4 separate regions of the Homo sapiens genome follow, and regions 2, 3 and 4 are each linked to region 1. The links are contacts of gene promoters, found by promoter capture Hi-C in blood cells and fetal thymus (Javierre and others, 2016). All regions are on one chromosome and are shown on one strand. The core of a region is centred on a gene start or on the middle of the fragment in contact, and the rest is flanking DNA. Distances in the headings are between cores, read along the strand shown. Region 1 holds the start of BANF2 (BANF family member 2). Region 2 overlaps OVOL2 (ovo like zinc finger 2). Region 3 has its middle 31 kb from the start of MGME1. Region 4 overlaps MGME1 (mitochondrial genome maintenance exonuclease 1).

The links. Contacts are between HindIII fragments. The CHiCAGO score rates a contact against its expected background, and 5 or more counts as called.
Region 2: a contact is called between a fragment that was not itself captured here and the fragment with the promoter of BANF2 in region 1, in 4 of 17 cell types (naive B cells, neutrophils, total B cells and 1 more). The highest score is 10.4, in naive B cells.
Region 3: a contact is called between a fragment that was not itself captured here and the fragment with the promoter of BANF2 in region 1, in 15 of 17 cell types (neutrophils, total CD4 T cells, naive CD8 T cells and 12 more). The highest score is 12.5, in neutrophils.
Region 4: a contact is called between a fragment that was not itself captured here and the fragment with the promoter of BANF2 in region 1, in 6 of 17 cell types (neutrophils, monocytes, naive CD4 T cells and 3 more). The highest score is 10.8, in neutrophils.

Annotation. Positions count from the first base shown.
Region 1 is chr20:17,697,272-17,702,144 of GRCh38, reverse strand. BANF2 (BANF family member 2) reads right to left here and starts at 2,179. Exons shown (of 4, transcript NM_178477.5): 1 at 2,090-2,179. LOC105372547 (a long non-coding RNA gene) reads left to right here and starts at 2,286. Exons shown (of 2, transcript XR_937294.2): 1 at 2,286-2,646; 2 at 3,965-4,529. The HindIII fragment of the contact is 11,340 bases long and covers 1-4,873 here.
Region 2 is chr20:18,027,887-18,032,759 of GRCh38, reverse strand. All of the region lies in intron 3 of OVOL2 (ovo like zinc finger 2), which reads left to right. Among named protein-coding and RNA genes, the nearest start is that of OVOL2, 28 kb to the left of the region's middle. The HindIII fragment of the contact is 2,472 bases long and covers 890-3,361 here.
Region 3 is chr20:17,997,547-18,002,419 of GRCh38, reverse strand. No RefSeq gene overlaps it. Among named protein-coding and RNA genes, the nearest start is that of MGME1, 31 kb to the right of the region's middle. RefSeq lists an enhancer at 1,994-2,495. The HindIII fragment of the contact is 3,176 bases long and covers 528-3,703 here.
Region 4 is chr20:17,978,515-17,983,387 of GRCh38, reverse strand. The region is part of intron 3 of MGME1 (mitochondrial genome maintenance exonuclease 1); the gene reads right to left. Among named protein-coding and RNA genes, the nearest start is that of MGME1, 12 kb to the right of the region's middle. The HindIII fragment of the contact is 5,928 bases long and covers 1-4,873 here.

The sequences.
Region 1 (4,873 bases), core at 930-3,429:
GTTTTCCTTGGGGTTAGAAAGACCTGCTTCGTCATTTAGTATTTATGACATCTCCACAAGTACCTGATCCTCTGGGGTGGTTACCTAACCATGCTCATCTGAGAAACGGGGCTGATGACACCCACCTCATGGAGCTGGGGAGGAGTAGGTGGAATAATCTCTGGAAACACACTTGGCATGCAGCAGGCATTTTGTAAATGGTGGCTGAATCATAATCTTGATAGGAAAGAACCAGGTGAATGAGAGAGATGGGCATGGGAACGTTTGATCAGCACTCAGAACTGGCTCCTCCATTTGTTCAGTCAACACAGGTTAACTCTGCAAATTGGCTCTGGAGCCTTGGAAAACTCCCTCAACCAGCCTGGGTTCCTCTTTCCTACCTGGGGCCCGTAGCTGATCTCTATGGTTCTTCCCAGTTCTCCTTGCCTAACAGAAAGTTTGCAGCCGTCCTTAAGGCGTGACCCACCTGAGTTCAATCGCAGAGGGTGGGCAAAGTACTAACACCCAGAAACCTACAATCTTGGATTTGGAAACAGCCTTTAAAGGTCTTTTGGTCCAGCTCCCAGCTGATCACAAGAATCCCGTTCCCTTCCATGCTGATGGAAGAGCCGTGGCCTGCACACTCTTGCTGCCTTGCAAAGCAGCCCATTCTCTTTTCAGAGAGCTCTAATGTTGGGGATAGTCGATAGAGAGTGAAGGCATGCTCCAGGTTAATGACCCTCTTTAGACGTGGCACCAGCACAGAACAGTCTTCAGTTTCTATGTCTGTAGAATGAACCTGAGAACACCTGCTTCACAGAGGTCGGAATTAAGAGCAATAACATAGCTGGTGGGTCTGGCACGGGAGGTTCAGCGTTTGCTCCCTTTCTCCTCTCCAAATTAAACCTGCTGCAGGACGGGGACCACAGGTTGCTCTAGCGCCGGCCCCTCTACTGTCTTTTTTCCTTTTCCAGTGGGGCCTAACATAGGCTAAAATGTTCTTAGCATGCTTGGTGAACCATTGGCGTCTTGGATTTGTGTGTGAAGCAGAGGTTGGCTTCAGCCCATCACATATAAAACTAAGGAGGGATGGCAAAGCCTAAGGGTAAAATATTTCTCTGATCCACCCCCCACCACCTCCCTTTCTACCTTACACAGTCAAGGAGAGCCAGGAGCCTTCTTAAAATCATGGGGTCCCTATAGAAGCCACTCCTTTGTGGGAGAAGGGACGCAGCTGCAGCTGTGTGGACGTGTTGGCACTCACAGATGGTGAATGGACCGTAGACAGACTGTGGGAAAACACGAATGGGCCATGGTAGGGAAGGCAGCTGTGCCTCCTGGGGCCCAGAACGGGTCCCTACTGTTTGTTATAGAAGGCCTTGAGTCTCAAACCACCCTCAGCCGAGTGCAGGTGGCCCATATGGAAAGAGCCAGCATCCTCTTTGAGAGATGGCTTTGGCCTCTGTCCCTGTCCCCGCTACCTTAGATTTTGCCCACTTTCCTGGTGTTCTAATCCATCTCCTTATTTCCCGTCACGATCCTAAAGCTCTCTTACTGTCCCAAAAGGAAAGGAAGTGATTTGATATACCAGCAGGTCACCAGGAGGTGGATTTAAAAACAGCCAAAGCAGGAAGGCCTCTTACAGAAAGGAAGGACCGTCGTTCACATTTTGGACGGGAGGTGGCTGTGTCAGCTACCTCTGCTCATCCTGCTATGTGGTGTGTCATTTGGCCAATGGCTGTCCCTGACCTCAATTAGGGCTAGAAGTGATGCTCTAGTGAATTTGCCATCTGAAAGCCTGGCCTCTCTGCTCTATTAAGAACACAGGTGACCTTTGCCCAGGGAGCTGGTGCAGGTGGCAAGCCGAGTCTTAGGGGAGACTAGAGTACCACCTCCCGCAGATGGTGACACAGCAGGAAGAGGCTGGGAAGGGGTGTGTGCATCAGGTGAGTCAGCTTTCCTAGGAAGAGTTTGGGGCTTACCTGGTGAACTCCTGTCCACCGGTTTGGCTCATCTAAACCTGTGTGAGAATGAGACCTTAAAGTGCTAAGACAGCCAGCTGTTGGCTGTATCTCCTTCCATGCTGCTTGGGAAAGTTCTGAATACTCACCAGGTGCTCCTGATAAGCCAGTGGCAGCTGGCAGTTTGTCTCAGTCACCTTGGATCTGGAACTGCAGGCCAGAGGTTCAGCTTATGTCTTAGGCCCATGGGGCAAATCAGTCTCAAGATCCTGAATGGACTACATTGTGATGTCACACCACAGGTCGGGGGTGAGCACAAAAAGGGCTGCAGTGGCTGCTGGCATCAGGGCACAGGGCAGGGCAGGAGCAAGAGCCTCAGGCCTCTCCAGAAGAAATCAGCCTGTCTGGGTGCTGTTCTCAGCTGGGGTTGCTGGGAAAGAGTGAGGGATGTCTGCTGTACAGAAAACATCAGCCTGGAAGACTGCTTATGAATCCACCTGCTGCCACTTGCTGCCACGGTTCCTATTCTCACCTGGCCTGCGTCAATTCAGTTAAACCAAGTCCATCCTTCATGCAGTTTTCCTGCACAAAGTGACTTCCGTGGGTACCCCCAGCTCCTTGCACATCTTCTGTGATGGACTTGAAATTCCAGGGCAGCTTTTTCTTCTACCAGTATACCCGTGACTTTCCCCCTACTGCCCACCTGGTAGGGACTCAAGGAAAGAGAAGTAACTTAAATATTAGCTCAGGAAAACAAGCAGAAATATAAATCCTCCCACCTTCAAGTTAAATTCAACACAGGTGTCTTTTAGGTTATCCTCTATAGCATATATGCCTGGGCTACTTTCCATTGTTGGTAATTGATAACTTGGTACAATGTATATTTACTAAGCCTAAAAAGAAAAGAAAAACTCAAAAAAGGGGGCAAAGTATAAAATGTTTCCAGAGATTCCATTCCCTTTTGCTGCTGGTGCTTGGGATTGGGGATGGAGGAGTTCTAACCAAGAGCAAACGGCTTCGCTTTGGAAACTGTTGGGTGGCCCTAAATTTTAGAGTCCAAAACAGTGGGTCTTAAACTGTAGGTTGCATTAGAATGACCTGGAAGACTCGTTAAAATACAGATTCCTGGGCCCCACTCTCAAAGTTTCTGACTCATTAGGTCTGGGGGAGAACCCAATAATTCACATTTCTTACACGTTCCCACATGACGTTGAGGCTGCTTGCTCTGAGACTACACACTTTAAGAACATGTAAGGGTGCTGGTATCTTAGGTTTGATCCTGAAATAGTATTGCCAGCTGATGGCAGTATTCAGGGGTTGCTGGAGAATAAACAGGAGCTGTAGCTTTGGGGCCAAAGCTGGCTGAGCTCTCTGGGTTCAACCAGCACGCTTTACTGAGGATCTATTCATTGCCAGAACTGAGCCACGTTTTGGGGAAGCACAACTGACGTTGTCAGTGCCCTGCCCATAGCCTCTTGGCCTTACAACTTCATTGTACAAAGGTAATCTGACTCCCAGCTGCCAGTACCTGCGTATCTTTGCTTGGGGGCTTTTGCCAGCTGCTGGAGTCCACCCTGCCTACAAGCGGGCAGCTGCAAGTTGCAGAATGTCCTCATTCAATGACTATTATCAGTTGGTAGATAAATAACCCAGCTCCCTCCCTGCTCAGGTGGAATAACCTGGAGTCATGTCCTGTTCCATGTCCCAGAGGACCCACAGGACCCACCCGTAGGTGCCTATGCTAGGCCATTCTCTTCCTATAAAGAAATATCTGAGGCTGGGTAATTTCCACAGAAAAGAGGTTTAATTGGCTCACAGTTCTGCAGGCTGTTCAGGAAGCACGGTGCCAGCACCTGCTTTGCTTCCAGTGAGGCCTTAAGGAGCTGACAATTATGTCTGAAGGTAAACAGGGAGCCAGTGTATCACATGGCAAGAGTGGGAACAAGGCAAGGGAGGTACCACACACCTTTTTTTTTTATTATTATTTTTTATTTTTGAGATGGAGTCTCACTCTTGTTGCCCAGGTTGGAATGCGATGGCGTGATCTCGGCTCACTGCAACCTCCGCCTCCCGGGTTCAAGCAATTCTCCTGCCTCAACCTCCAAAGTAACTGGGATTTACAGGCACCCACCACCACTCCCAGCTAATTTTTTTGTATTTTTAGTAGAGATGGGGTTTCACTTTTTTGGCCAGGCTGGTCTCAAACTCCTGACCTCAGATGATCCGCCCATCCTGGCCTCCCAAAGTGCTGGGATTATAGGCATGACCCACCGTACCCGGCCGGGTACCACACACTTTTAAACAGCCAGCTCTCACAAGAACTCACTATCATGAGTACAGCACCAAGACATTCATGAGGGATCTGCCCCCAGGACACAAACACCGCCCACCAGGCCCCACTTCCAACATTGCAATCACTTTTCAACGTGAGATTTGGAGGGGACGAATATTCAAACCATATCAGTGCCCACAGTGGCAACTGGCTTGCTAACATACCCCACATTGTTGCCCCCATCCCCTGCCTCACTTCCCCGCTCCCCTACCTATGTTTCCTGGGATCAAACTGCAAATAAACTGCTTCCACTCAAATCCTTGTTTCAGGGTCTGCTTCAGGGGGAACCCAAACTAAGACTTTGTAAATAAGAAATGATGTCTGTTCTTTGTAAGTTCACATTTAGATGGAGAAACTATATAAATTGGCTTGGTATAATTCAGAATGTCTGGGAACCGGTGAGTGTCAGGTCTCAGGGCAGATGGAGGTGTTCTGCTGGTTGGCCTTTGGAGTATCATTAGGAATGTCTTGAGGAAACACATGAGCTGATATGCTCAGGGGGAGGCCTGGCAACCTGGCCCAAAGGCCTTTTCCTCTGCACAGGGAGGCCTGAATGTGCTACCCCCAGGGGACTGATTTGCTACACAAATTCCACCTGCTT
Region 2 (4,873 bases), core at 876-3,375, 330 kb before region 1:
CGAGGCGGGCTGATCACTTGAGGTCAGGAGTTTGAGACCGGCCTGGCCAGCATGGTGAAACCCTGTCTCTACTAAAAACACAAAAATTAGCTGGGCATGGTGGCTGGCGCCTGTAATCCCAGCTACTCAGGAGGCTGAGGTAGGAGAATCGCTTGAACTCGAGAGGCAGAGGCTGCAGTGAGCTGAGATGGTGCCACTGCACCCCAGCCTGGGCAACAGAGTGAGACTCCATCTCAAAATAATAATAATAATAATAATAAAAGAAATCATGACAAAATTTCCAGTATCGAGGGACTGTACTTTTCCTATTCCTCAATTGATGACATTTGTTTCCATTTGCAGATTTCCTTCCTTCCTTCCTCCCTTCCTTCCTTCCTTCCTCCTTCCCTTCCTTCTTTTTTCTTTTCTTTTCTTTCCTTTCTTTCTTTCTCTCTTTCTTTCTCTCTCTCTCTCCTTCCTTCCTTCCTTTCCTTTCCTTTCTTTCTTTCTCTTTCTTTCCCTCTCTTCTTTCCTTCCCTTCTTCCTCGCTTCCTTCCTTTCTTCTTTCCTTCCTTCTTTCCTTTCTTTCATTTCAGGCAATCCTACCATGAGTATATCTTGTATATCCTTCGCCTCCCTGTGTGAGTCTTCCTGTAGGATAATTTCCCTGATGTGAAATTGCTGGGCCAAAGGGTAGATACAGTGTGATTTTTTTTTATGGCCATTGCCAAATTGCCTTCCGGGGAGGCTGCCGTAAATGTCCACTCCCACAAGCATGCCTGTAAAAATCTTCTCGCTGAAGTTCACCTTCGGATAAAGTTCAGTAAAGGAGCAGTTGAGCTATAGCAAGGAAAGCAACTAGAAAGTTCCAAAGTGTAGAATTTTCCTTGAGGATGTATGGCACGAAGCTTGATTTGCTATTAGGGGTAAAAAAATGGAAAACAACAAACCCTTTTTGATAACCCAATAAACAATATTTTTCGGACTAGGTAGGACAGGCTGATGGTACAAAATTCAAAAGGGCAGACGGCGAAAGCAGTCCCCCCTCTCCTCCACCAGCCACATTTTAAAAAATTATCCTTTCCTTTTGTTGTGAAATAAGTAACACGTACAAAAGTATACATATAGGTACAGTTTAAAGACAAATCTGCGAAATACTCATGTACCCAGCAGCCAGCTTATGTTTTTGTTTTGTTTTTTTTCTGAGATAGAGTCTCGCTCCGTTACCCAGGTTGGAGTGCAGTGGCGCCATCTCAGCTCACTGCAACCTCTGCCTCCCAGATTCCAGCGATTCTCCTGCCCTGGCCTCCCGAGTAGCTGGGATTACAGGCACTCGCCACCATGCCCGGCTAAATTTTTTTTGTATTTTTTAGTAGAGGTGGGGTTTCACCATATTGGCCAGGCTGGTCAGCAGCCAGCTTACGAATGAGGCTTATCTGCATTATGTTGAGCTGTATCCCATTGAGAACTTAGTCTATCTCGGCTAATCCTCACAGCAGCCATGCAAGAGCTATGACACCCCTGTGACAGGTGAGGAAACGGCCTTTCGGGCTGGAGCAGCCGCCCCCGTTTCAGTTAATAAGCAGCAGATCCGCAGCCTGGCTCTTCGGTGGCCTTGGACTCACAGTCGTGTGGGTGTCAGTAGGTTAATGACGTCTAGCGCATGGGTGGTGCTCTTCAGTTCCCATGTCCTGCTTTAGACACAGGCACGGTTGGCCTTTGCGTGAGAGCACCAAGATGGGTGAGCCTCAGTGGTGGGAGGGGCCTTGGCATCAGTCCGTCTTGCCCAGGGCTCCTCTCTGGCCACCCACGTCCCCCTGAATGTGTGGGTGATGGGGGTGCTCTGGGAGGGAGGTGCTTGTTCCCAAGCCTAGAAAGGGTCACCAAGGGGCTGCCGCATGGCAGTGCCCGCACCAGTGAATGAGGGGTGAATGGTGGCGTTTACACTAGCAAATGGGGAAGCAGAAGTGCTGGGGCACAGAGCAGTGCATTTGGCAAAAGTCAGAAGTGCCATAACTGGAGCTTTCTGGGCCTATGTCTCCTTTCCATCTCTGTCTGCGAGTCACTCCTCTTCCAAGCCAGGCTCTAATTCTACCCACTCCCTGGAAAAAAAGCCCCCACTGCCATCATCTCTCTTGTTTGCATGATGCAGGGCTTTGGAATCTTCTAGCGTTTGCTATCCAGGCCTTGCTGGGTACTCTGCTCATAGAAGATGCTCAGAGGCTGTGTTGACTGAAGAGAGGAAGGAGATGTGGCCCTGTGCACATGGGGCTGAGTGGTGGCCTGGCTGGCCTCTCCTCGGGGGCAGATCACCTTTGAGGATGGGAACCTCCAGGAGTTTGTTGCATCCAGGTTAAAGCCTGATGTTAAGTGTGCCAGCTTCCCCATATTTTTAGTTTGGATGTTTTAAAACAGTAGTCGGTTATTTCTACTAACTAGTGAAAGGAGCAACTAATCTCTGGGTGGATTTCTGCTCTGATGAGCTGAAGGTTGGAAATCGGGTTTGCCGCTTGATCTACTGGGTAGTGGGAGCCAGCTGCTCGCTGCTGCATGGGCCCAGAAGGCCGGGAAAACACAAAGTCTGCATTACAGTGCAAACATGAAAGCTAGAGCGGGCGCATTCCTTAGGAGAGGAGTCTGTAGTCCTTGCCTATGTGGAAAACTAGTCCCAAAGATGTGGCCTTTCTTTCCTGGAACCAACAGAGTTCATCCATTCATTCGATATTTTGATTTTTAAAATATTGCCTTAAAACTTTCTTAACCTTGATTGGTGAGGGTTGGTTTGTTTGTTTTCTGTTTTTCTGAGACAGGGTCTCACTCTCGCCCAGGCTGGAGTGCAGTGGTGCGATCATGGCTCACTGTAGCCTTGAATTCCTGGGTTCCAGTGATCTCTCCCACCTTAGCCTCCTGAGTAGCTGGGACCACAGGGGCATGCCACCATGCCCAGCTAATTTTTTACTTTTTTGTAAAGACAGGGATCTCCCCATGTTCGCCAGGCTAGTCTCGAACTCCTGGACTCAAGAGATCCTCCTGCCTTGGCCTCCCAAAGTGCTGGGATTACAGGTGTGAGCCATGCACCCATCCTAGAATAGTTTTAAGAGAAAAGGTGGGAGATTCATTGTCATTACACTGCCCAGAAGGAACCACAGTTAGTACGAAAATTATTATTATTAATACTGGCAGGTGGTTGGAGATGGGAAGTAGTACAGACAGGGACGCAATGGCAAGTGTAAGCCTTCACCACCCTCCAGACCGTCTCTCCAGAACCCCAGGTTTATGTTTCGGAAACATGTACATCCGTGCATATGCCAATGTGAATGTGCATTTATTTAGAACTCTCGTTTTCATACTTGGCTGCACACTAGAGCCTCCTGGGGAAGCTTTAACAAATTCTCCTGCTCAGGCAACACCCAGAGATGACATATATTTATTAATCTTAAAATACATATGTAGGCCGGGCGTGGTGGCTCATGCCTGTAATCCCAGCACTTTGGGAGGCCGAGGCAGGTGGATCTCCTGAGGTCAGGAGTTCAAGATCAGCCTGGTCAACATGGTGAAACCCGGTCTCTACTAAAAAAATACAAAAGTTAGCTGGACATTGTAGCAGGCACCTGTGGTCCCAGCTACTAGGGAGGCTGAGGCAGGATACTCGCTTGAACCCAGGAGGCAGAGGTTGCAGTGAGCCGACATTGTGCCACTGCACTGCAGCCTGGGAGACAGAGTGAGACTCCTTCTCAAAAAATAAAATAAAATAAAAATGTACATATATATAATTTGTAGAAAATGTGAAGGATCACAAGAAACTTGCGAGTTAGGACTAGGGAAGGAGAGGTGCATGGGGTGACAAAGGGATCTTTTCTGTTTTATTTTTTTTAATTTACTGCTGTTTTTCACCATAAAACTGGGGGGTATATTACTTTTAAATTTAAACAACTATTAATAGTAACCTTTTGTTATTTATTTTGTTTATTTATTTATGTATTTATTTGAGACAGGGTCTCGCTCTATTGCCCAGGCTGGAGTGCGGTGGCACTATCTCAGCTCACTGCAACCTCTGCCTGCTGGGTTCAAGCAATTTTCGTGCCTCATTCTCCCAGGTAGCTGAGATTACAGATGTGGGCCACCACACCAGGCTAATTTTTGTATTTTTACTAGAGACGGGGTTTCACTGTATTGGCCAGGCAGGTCTCGAACTCCCGACCTCAGGCGATCCACCCAGCCCGGCCTCCCAAAATGCTAGGATTACAAGCGTGAGCCACCGCACCCAGCCTATTTTTTATATTTTAATAAAAGGTAACTATTAGGGCCAGGCACGGTGGTTCATGCCTGTAATCCCAGCACTTTGAGAGGCCAAGGCAGGTGGATCACCTGAGATCGGGAGTTTGACACCAGCCTGGCCAACACAGTGAAACCCCTTCTCTACTAAAAATAAAAAAATTAGATGGCTGTTGTGGCGGGCACCTGTAGTCGCAGCTACTTGGGAGGCTGAGGCAGGAGAATTGCTTGAACTAGGGAAGCGGAGGTTGCAGTGAGCCAAGATTATGCCACTGCACTTCAGCCTGAGTGATAGAGCAAGACTCAGTCTCAAAAAAATAAAATAAAATAAAATATTAAAAATAAAACTACAGCTTCCTAGTCCCAGCCCCTGACCTAGTGCCTGGGGTCCCTGAGGCAGGCCCGGGAATCTGTACAGGGTCTGCGGGTTTCTCCAGGTGGCATCCCTCCTGTCTCTAGGCTCTAGGATGGTCTCGTGGCTGTGGCAGTGGCCTCTTCATGCTCCATGCACCCCCAGTACCATATTCACCCTCTCTCAACTTCCATGCTTTTGTGACGTGTGTCTCCTTCACAGCCATAACCTCTCTTTGAGAGCCTAAGTTAGACCTTACAGCCGGGC
Region 3 (4,873 bases), core at 866-3,365, 300 kb before region 1:
AATCTCAGCACTTTGGGAGGCTGAGGCAGGCAGATCATGAGGTCATGAGATCGAGACCATCCTGGCTAACATGGTAAAACCCCATCTCTATTAGAAATACAAAAAAATTAGCAGGACATGGTGGTGTGCGCCTGTAGTCCCAGCTACTTAGGAGGCTGAGGCAGGAGAATCACTTGAAACCGGGAGGCAGAGGTTGCAGTGAGCCGAGATTGTGCCACTGCACTCCAGCCTGGCAACAGAGCGAGACTCTGTCTAAAAAAAAAAAAAAAAAAAAAAAAGTGAACCTGTTTAATAGTCTTAAGTGGTGCTCAGATATGGCAAAAACAAAGTTTTTTTGTGGCACAGGAGTGACTGGAGTTTGGGAAATATGAGTTTGCCCAGCAGGGACTGAACTTTTTCATTATGATGATAACAATAAAACAGCTACTACTATGTTATGTGCCAGCTATTTCTAGTCTTTATGAATACCCTATGAAGTAGTTATTATTTTACCCATTTACAGACGAGGACACTGAGGCTCAAAAGCTTTAGATAACTTGCCTGGGTCATGCTGTTAGCATGGTGGGTTGTAAAAATGGGCCCATTGTTCCCTTTCCTGTTCCACAGCCCTTTGCCATGTGAGTTTTTGGCTCCTCTCTGCAAGAGGTGGAATTTATTTCTCTATCCTTTGGTCTTGCCTTGGCCACATGACCTGCTTTGGCAAACGAGACATTAGTCAGCACGGCCCAAGCCGAGGCTTGTGAAATGCTGTGTGCTGGGGCTTGTTCTGCTGCTGTCCGGAATCCTTCTGCTACTGCTGCGTGAATGAGAGCCCAGGTTAGCCCTCTGGAGGATGAGAGTCACCAGGCCCAGGCATCTCCATGGCCCCAGCTGACACCAGGCCAACCCTCAGACATCTAAGTGATGACATCCTAAATCATCTAGCCCTACTTGAGCCAGCACAGACCAGAAATGCTCAGCTTGACCTCAGAATCATGAGAAATAAGTCGTAAACCACTGAATTTGGGGGTGATTTTTATTTACTTGTTTTTGAGACAAGGTCTCACTCTGTCACCCAGACTGGAGTGCTGTGGCACAAACATGACTCACTGCAACCTCTATCTCCCAGGCTCAAGCGATCCTCCCAACTCAGCCTCCCAAGTAGCTGGGACCACAGGCATGTGCCACCACAACCAGCTAGTTTGTTTTATTTTGTTTTTTTCCGTTTTTTCTAGAAGCGAGTCTCACCATGTTGCCCAGGCTGGGTGATTTATTGCACAGCAAAGCTAACTGATAGTGTTAGTGAGGAGAAAAGATGGGGCTGGACCTGGATTTTCTCCCTCCAGCCTTTCCCATGTCAGCAAATAACACACATGCCCTAAACCTACAACTTACCTTCCATTTATACTTCTTCATCACTCATCTCATTCAAACCCTCAGGCAAGGCTCCCAAAATACATCTCGAATCTTCCTTCCCAGCACCTCCTCTGCCATTTCTCTAGGCCAGCCTACCTCTTCTATCATCTAGACTGAGAGTCGGCAGACTTACTCTATAGAAGTCCAGATAGTAAATACTTGAGGCTTTGCAGGCCATACAGCCTCTGTTACCGACTTAACCTGCAGCTACAGAAGGAAAGCAGCCAGAGTCAAAAGCAAATGGGTGATGCTGTGTTCCAGGAAACCTTGACTTACAGACACTGGAATTCGAATCTTTACAATTTTATAAAAATTATATATGCCATAAAAAGACTCTACTTTTGATTTTTTTTCCAAACATTTAAAAATGTAAAAACAACTCTATGCTCACAGACCGTATAAAGACTGTATCAGGCAGCAAGCCGGATTTGGTGGATGAGCCAGTGTGCTGACTCCTATTATAATAGCTCTGTCTATAATAGTCCAGCCAGGCTGTGCTTCAGCACTTGCCTCCTGCATTCTGCTCTCCAAACAATGCTGATCTGCTTCTGCTGCTGCTGCTGCCGCCGCCGCCTCCTCCTCCTCCTCTTCTTCTTCTTTTTCTTCTTCTTCGTCTTTTAAATAATTTTAATTAAATTAGGCCAGGTACGGTGGCTCATGCCTGTAATCCCAGCACTTTGGGAGGCCGAGGCAGGTGGATCGTTTGAGGTCAGGAGTTCGAGACCAGCCTGGTGAAACCCCATCTCTACTAAAAATACAAAAATTAGCCAGGCATGGTGGCGTTGGCATGCACCTGTAATCCCAGCTACTCGGGAGGCTGAGGCAGGAGAATCACTCGAACCTGGGAGGCAGATGTTGCGGTGAGTCGAAGTGGCGCCATTGCATTCCAGCCTAGGCGACAAGAGCAAAACTCCATCTCAAAATAAATAAAATAAAATAGATAAGATAAAATAAAAAAAAATAGAGGTGGAGGTCTCACTATGTTGCCCAGGCTGGTTTCGAACTCCTGGGCTCAAGTGATCTCCTGCCTTGGCCTCCCAAAGTGCTGGGATTACCGGTGAGAGCCACTGCACTTGGCCCCGCTCTTCTTAAAAGGCAATGGAATGGCTTTATTCCCCTGCTTATCCCTGTCTTTCCATCTTAGAGTAAAATCTAAACTCCTTACCATGGCATATTGAGTTTGACATCATCTGGCTCCCCCGCCCACTTCTGCAGCCTGCAATTCCTTTCCTTTCCCCACTGCCTTCTGGCCACCCCTGTGTTCTTATAGCTCCTGTAACATGCTGTTCTTTCCTACCCTGGGGCCTTTGAACATGCTGATCCTTCTGCTGGAATATTCTTCCTGTGGCTCTCTGCAGTGCTGGCCACGTTTCCTCCTTTCCTCCTTCAAGTATCATGTTATGTGTCGCCCCTCAGAGGAGCCCTCTCTGACCACACAATCCAAAGTTGCAATTCTCCTCCTGGCTCAGTGATCCTCTGTTTCTTCATGGCACTGTCAATCTGTAATTTTCATACTAACTTTCTCACTTATTAATTGTTTGCCCTTTCTCTAGACTGTCAGCTCCATGCATTTTGCAAAAAACTAGCACAAGGCAGACATGAATATTCAATAAGACATTTGTCGGGTAAAGGAATGAATTACCACCTATGATGGTCAATCTTAGGTGTCAGCGTAACTGGATTAATGACACCCAGACAGCTGGCGAAGCATTATTTTGAGGTGTCTGTGAGGTGTTTCTGGAAGAAACTGGCATTTGAATCAGTGGACTGAGTAAGGAAGATCCATCCTCACTCAATGTCAGGGGGCACCGTCCATCAGCTGAGGGCCAGGATAACAAAAAGGCAAAGGAAAGGAGGATTTGCTCTGTTTTCTGGAGCTGGAACACCCTTCTTCTCCTGCCCTTGGACATCAGAACTCCAGCTTCTCCAGCTTTTGGACTCTGGGACACCAGTGGCCTCCTGGATTCTCAGGCTTTCGGCCTGAGACTGAGTGCTATCAGGTTCTCTGGTTCTGAGGCTTTTGAACTTGGACGGAGCCATGCTACCAGCTTCCCTGGTTTTCCAGCCTGCAGACAGCAGACCGTAGGACTTCTCAGCCCCCATAATTGTGTGAGCCCATTCCCCTAATAAATCCCCTGTCATATACCTATATCTACAAGCCCTATTGGTTTTAGCTCTCTGATTTATACACCGTCTAACTACAATCCCATGACTTTCTTCAGCATCGCATCCTTATCTGTACTGCCTCATTAATCCTATTTTGCAAGTCTTGTTTCACTGCGAGACTCCCCTAGTTCTACACAAAGCTTTCATTTCTTTTTTTTTTCTTCATATACTCAAAACTTTCAAATCACTGAGCTCACAAGTCAACCCACAGCCTCTTATCAAAGGGGTGACCAGCACTAACCAAATTTCTCTGGTGAGCCATTCTGATACCCAGCTCTTTTTCTGCTGCTCTAGGAAATGGCAGTTTCCTCTGTTGTTTGTCTCTTTACTCATCTCTCTCTTAAAACACTATTCTGGGCCAGACATGGTGGCTCACGCCTATAATCGCAGCACTTTGGGAGGCCAAGGTGGATGGATCACCTGAGGTCAGGAGTTCGAGACCAGCCAGCCAACATGAAAAAACCCCGTCTCTACTAAAAATACAAAAAATTAGCCAGGTGCGGTGGTAATGACCTGTAATCCCAGCTACTCGGGAGGCTGAGGCAAGAGAATCGCTTGAATCCAGGAGGCAGAGGTTGTAGTGAGCCAAGATTGTGCCACTGCACTCCAGCCTTGGCGACAGAATGAGACCCTGTCTCAAAAAAATAAATAAATAAAAAGATGTTTTGGGTTCAGATTTGAGAGTTTTTTTCTTTTTGTTTTTCATTTTACTTAAGAAATAGATATAAAATAAGTAGTTTTTTTTGTCTTTTTGTTTGTTTGTTTGTTTTTGTTTTGAGACGGAGTCTCGTTCTGCCGCCCTGGCTGGAATGCAGTGGTGCAATCTCTGCTCCCTGCAACCTCCCCCTCCAGGGTTCAAGCGATTCTCCTGCCTCAGCCTCCTGAGTAGCTGGGACTACAGGATGTGCCACCACTCCCGGCTAATTTTTTGTATTTTTAGTAGAGACGGGGTTTCACTGTGTTTGTTACATGTACATCTGAAATAGTGAAGTAACAGAAAAAGGTAGAATATGAACAAGAATCAAAGTGGGTGGTAAAAACAAAGGCACCACAAGAGTTCAGTGAAGGGTAGAGTCGGTTCCACGGAGGAAGTAGTTGATCTTTGCCCAGTGCCTATTCCACGTTCAGCATTTGTCACACATTTCCTATGTTAATCTTTCCAGGAACACTGAGGTTAATACTCTTCCCCAAATTACTAGTGAGGAAAAAGGCATGGAGAGCTGAAGTGACTTAGCATTGCACAGCAGGATTTGAACCCACCTCTGCCCAATTCTGAGGCTCCTGCTTCCTGCCCTATACCATTTTGTTTCCT
Region 4 (4,873 bases), core at 1,174-3,673, 280 kb before region 1:
TCACTGAAGCATTATTTACAAAGGCCAAGATGCGGAAACAACCTAAGTGTCCATCTATGGATAAATGGATAAAGAAAATGTGGATACACACACACACACACACACACACACACACACACAATAGAACACTACATAGCCTTTAAAAAGAAGGAAATTCTGTCATTTGTGACATGGGTGAACATGGTGAACATTTTGCTGAGTGAAATAAGCTGGGCACAAAAAGACAAATACTGCATGATTTCATTTATATGTGGAATCTAAAAAAGTCGAACTCAGAAAGAGAGAGAGTAGAATGGTGATTACAAGAGGATAGGGATGGAGAGTGGGGAAGAGGAAAGGGGAGATGCTGATCCCAGGGTAAGAGGTTTCAGTTAGGTCAGAAGAATAAATTTTAGTGATCTGTTGCACAGCATGGTGACCATATTTAATAATGCATTGTATATTTAAAAGTTGCTAAAAGAGTAGATTTTAAAGATTCTCACCACCAAAAAATGATAAATAGGTGAAGTGATGGATATGATAATTAGCTTATTTAATCTTTCCATTAGGTATACATATATCAAAATATCATACTGTAGCCTATAAATATATATAATTATTGTCAGTCAAAAACATTTTTTAACATCATAGTAGCGTAAACCCAAATTAAAAGTACAGTAACAGTTCACAAATAGCTCTTAAATGAAAAGATGCTCAGTCTCACTTATGTGACATGCAAATTAAAAATACAATGTTATCAAAATTACTAACACTGTATTGTTAAATGTATTCACTCATATTCTTGGTAATTTAAAATGCATACCCTTGACCCAGCAACCTTCCTAAAGTATAGGATAGCAATGGCTTGATATCCTGAGTACAAGTGAAGTGACAAGTGCCTGGGAGATTTAAGAAGCAGTCATGTCCGGGTCTACTTCAGACCAACTAAATGGATTGTAACTGCATATATCACACGTCTAAAACAAACAGGCCAGGCATGGTGGCTCATGTCTGTAATCCCAGCACTTTGGGAGGCTGAGGTGGGTGGATCACCTGAGGTCAGGAGTTCGAGACCAACCTGGCCAACATGGTGAAACCCTGTCTCCACTAAAAACAAAAAATTAGCTGAGCATGGTGGCACATGCCTGTAATCTCAGCCACTTGGGAGTACAAGACAGGAGAATCGCTTGAACCCAGGAGGTGGAAGTTGCGGTGCCGCACCATTTCACTCCAGCCTGGGCAACAAGGGTGAAACTCCGTCTCAAGAAAAAAAATAAATAAACAAATGAATCTGTGCATCTGCCTAGAACAGCTCTGTAATATACAAAGAGGCACATTTGCTGCAGCACTGTTTGTAATTGTGGAAAACTAGAAATAATCTGAGTGTTCCCAATAGGGAAATGGGTAAGGCTCATTCATACAAAAGAATACAAAAAACGAGTTAAGAGAGAAGTAGGGCCAGGTGCAGTGGCTCAAGTCTGTAATCCCAGCACTTTGGGAGGCTGAGATGGGTGGATCACCTTAGGTCAGGAGTTCGAAACAAGCCTGGCCAACATGGCAAAACCCTGTCTCTATTAAAAATACAAAAAAAATTAGCCAGGCACCTGTAATCCCAGCTACTCAGGAGGGCGAGGCAGAATTGCTGGAACCTGGGAGGCGGAGGTTATAGTGAGTCCAGATTGTGCCACTGCACTCCAGCCTGGGCAATAGAGCGAGACTCTGACACACACACACACACACACACACACACACACACACACGAGTAGTAGATTGGGCAAGGTGGCTCACGCCTGTAATCCCAGCACTTTGGGAGGCTGAGGTGAGGATCATACTTCCTTCCCAGTTCTAGATTAGTCTGGGCAACACAGCAAGAATTATTTCTATAAAAAAGTAAAAAAAGAAGTAGATCAAAATAATAATGTAACATCTACTGAATACATAGTATGCATTAAGCACTCTTCAGGGAATATCTCATTTTATAACAAGGTAGGTACTACCATTTGTCTTATCTTAAAGATGAATAAATTGAGACAGAGAGCGACTAAGTAATTAATCTAAGGTTAAGATGAAAAGCCAAGCCAGAATCCAAACTCAAGCAGCTGGCTCCTGAGCCCAATATCTTACTAGCTTTGTGATGCTGTGTATCTAGAGATGTCTGTATATTATGACTGTCACAGTTCTGCATGAAATCATACATAAGTGCTGCCTATGCATGTGTATTATACATAGCATTATGTGTGTGCTAAGAGTATAGAGGGCACATATTCTTAGGTTCTCCTGATGCTGTGTCACAGATCATTGGTCATTAAAAAAAGAAAAGAACAAAAAAGAGCGTAGAAGGCAGACTAGAAGGAGGTAGTGCCAAACTTAAAACAGCAATCGCCTTTGGCCACGGGTGGTTCAACAGAATTTGGGGTTAATCTGTAATATTATATTTCTTTAAAAAAAAGATCTCCATGTAATCACAGGGATAAGGAAAAAAAAAGTTTTAAGCAAATGCACCAGTGTTAAGTGTTAATTGTGGGTGGTGGAAAATTATTACATGAGAAAAGAATGTTACAGATCTATATAAACTAATAAAAGATTTTTTTTTTTTTTTTGAGATGGAGTCTCACTCTGTCACCCATGCTAGAGTGCAGTGGCGTGATCTCAGCTCACTGCCAGCTCCGCCTCCCGGGTTCACGCCATTCTCCTGCCTCAGCCTCCCAAGTAGCTGGGACTACAGGCGCCTGCCACCATGCCTGGCTAACTTTTTGTATTTTTAGTAGAGATGGGGTTTCACCGTGTTAGCCAGGATGGTCTCAATCTTCTGACCTCGTGATCTGCCTGCCTTGGCCTCCCAAAGTACTGGGATTACAGGTGTGAGCCACTGCGCCCAGCCTGATTTTTTTTTAAATAATTTTTTTAAGTGGAAAAAAGCAGGGTATATCATCTTGTGTTAAAAAATGAGTGTGGGGACAAATGATTGTACATATGGTCATACAATATCTCAGGAACACAGGAGCTTTTTAAACAGAGGTTCAATACAGAGTGGGTGTGGGGAGTTACTCTTAATAGCATATTACCCATTAAAAATTCAGTGGGGTCGGGCACAGTGGCTCACACCTGTAATCCCAGCACTTTGGGAGGCCGAGGCAGGCAGATCTCCTGAGGTCAGGAGCTTGAGACCAGCCTGGCCAACATGGTGAAACCCCGTCTCTATGAAAAATACAAAAATGAGCTGGGTATGGTAGCAGGCGCCTGTAATCCCAGCTACTAGAGAGGCTGAGGCAGGAGAATCACTTGAACCCGGGAAGCAGAGGTTGTAGTGAGCCAAGATCTCGCCATTGTACTCCAGCCTGGGCGACAACAGCAAAACTCCTTCTCAAAAACAAAATCGGCCAGGCATAGGGGCTCACGTTTGTAATTCCAACACTTTGAGAGGCTGAGGTGGTGGATCACTTGAGCCCAGGAGTTCAAGACCAGCCTGAGCAAAATGGTGAGACCCCACATCTACAAAAAATAGAAAAATTAGTTGGGTGTGGTGGTGCATCCCTGTAGTTCCAGCTATTTGGGAAGCTGAGGTGGAAGGACAGCCTGAGCCTGGGGAGTTAGAGACTGCAGTGAGCCCTGAATGCATCACTGCACTCCAGCATGGGTGACAGTGAAAGACTGCCTCAAAAAAATAAACTAAAATAAAATAAAAAATTATTAGGCCCGGTGCGGTGGCTCACACCTGTAATCCCAGCACTTTGGGAGGCCGAGGCGGGCAGATCACGAGGTCAGGAGATCGAGACCATTGTGGCTAACACGGTGAAACCCTGTCTCTACTAAAAATACAAAAAAAAAAAAATTAGCCGGGCGTGGTGGCATGCGCCTGTAGTCCCAGCTGCTGGGGAGGCTGAGGTAGGAGAATGGCGTGAACCCGAGGCGGAGCGTGCAGTGAGCCGAGATCGCGCCACTGCACTCCAGCCTGGGTGACAGAGCAAGACTCCATCTCAAAAAAATAAATAAATAAAATTAAAAAAATAACAAAAATAAAAAATTCTTAGCTGGGCGCGGTGCCTCACACCTGTAAATCCCAGCACTTTGGGAGACGGAGACAGGCAGCTTGCTTGAGTTCAGGAATTCTAGATCAGCCTGAGCAACATGGCAAAACCCCATCTCTACAAAACATACAAAAAAATTAGCTGGGCGTGGTTGTTCGCATCTGTGGTCCCAACTACTCAGGAGGCTGAGGTGGGAGAATCGCTTGGGCCTGCGAGGTGGACGTTGCAGTGAGCCGAGATCATGCCACCGCACTCCAGCTTGGGCAACTGAACAAAACTGTGTCTTAAAAAAAAAAAATTCTAGGCTGGGTGCAGTGGCTCACACTTACAATCCCAGCACTTTGGGAGGCTGAGGCGGGCAGATCACTCAAGGCCCGGAGCTCGAGACCAGCCTGGGCAACATGTCCAAACCCCATCTCTACTAAAAACACAAAAAATTAGCCAGGCGTGGTGGTGGGTGCCTGTAGTCCTAGCCACTTGGGGAGGCTGACACAGGAGAATTGCTTGAACCCAGGAGGCAGAGGTTGCAGTGAACTGAGATTGGGCCACCACACTCCAGTCTGGGTGACAGAGCAAGACTCTGTCTCAAAAACAAAAACAAAAACAACAAAAAAAAACCGTAGTTTCAAAAATGTTCATATTACCAAGGTTGATGTTGACTTAAAAAGCAAAAAACAAACAACAGTGCTATGGACATATTTTATCATCTCTATGACAAGCATTGGGTGTCAGGAACTTCTTGTAGGCCTTGGGTGGAGGTGACTGTATGGCTTCCTTGGTTTATCTAAAAGGCAACCAAAGTCTATTAAATCTCTTGGTATACAGGGCTCTTCTCAGATATGACGCAGTTGTGCTATAAAACCATT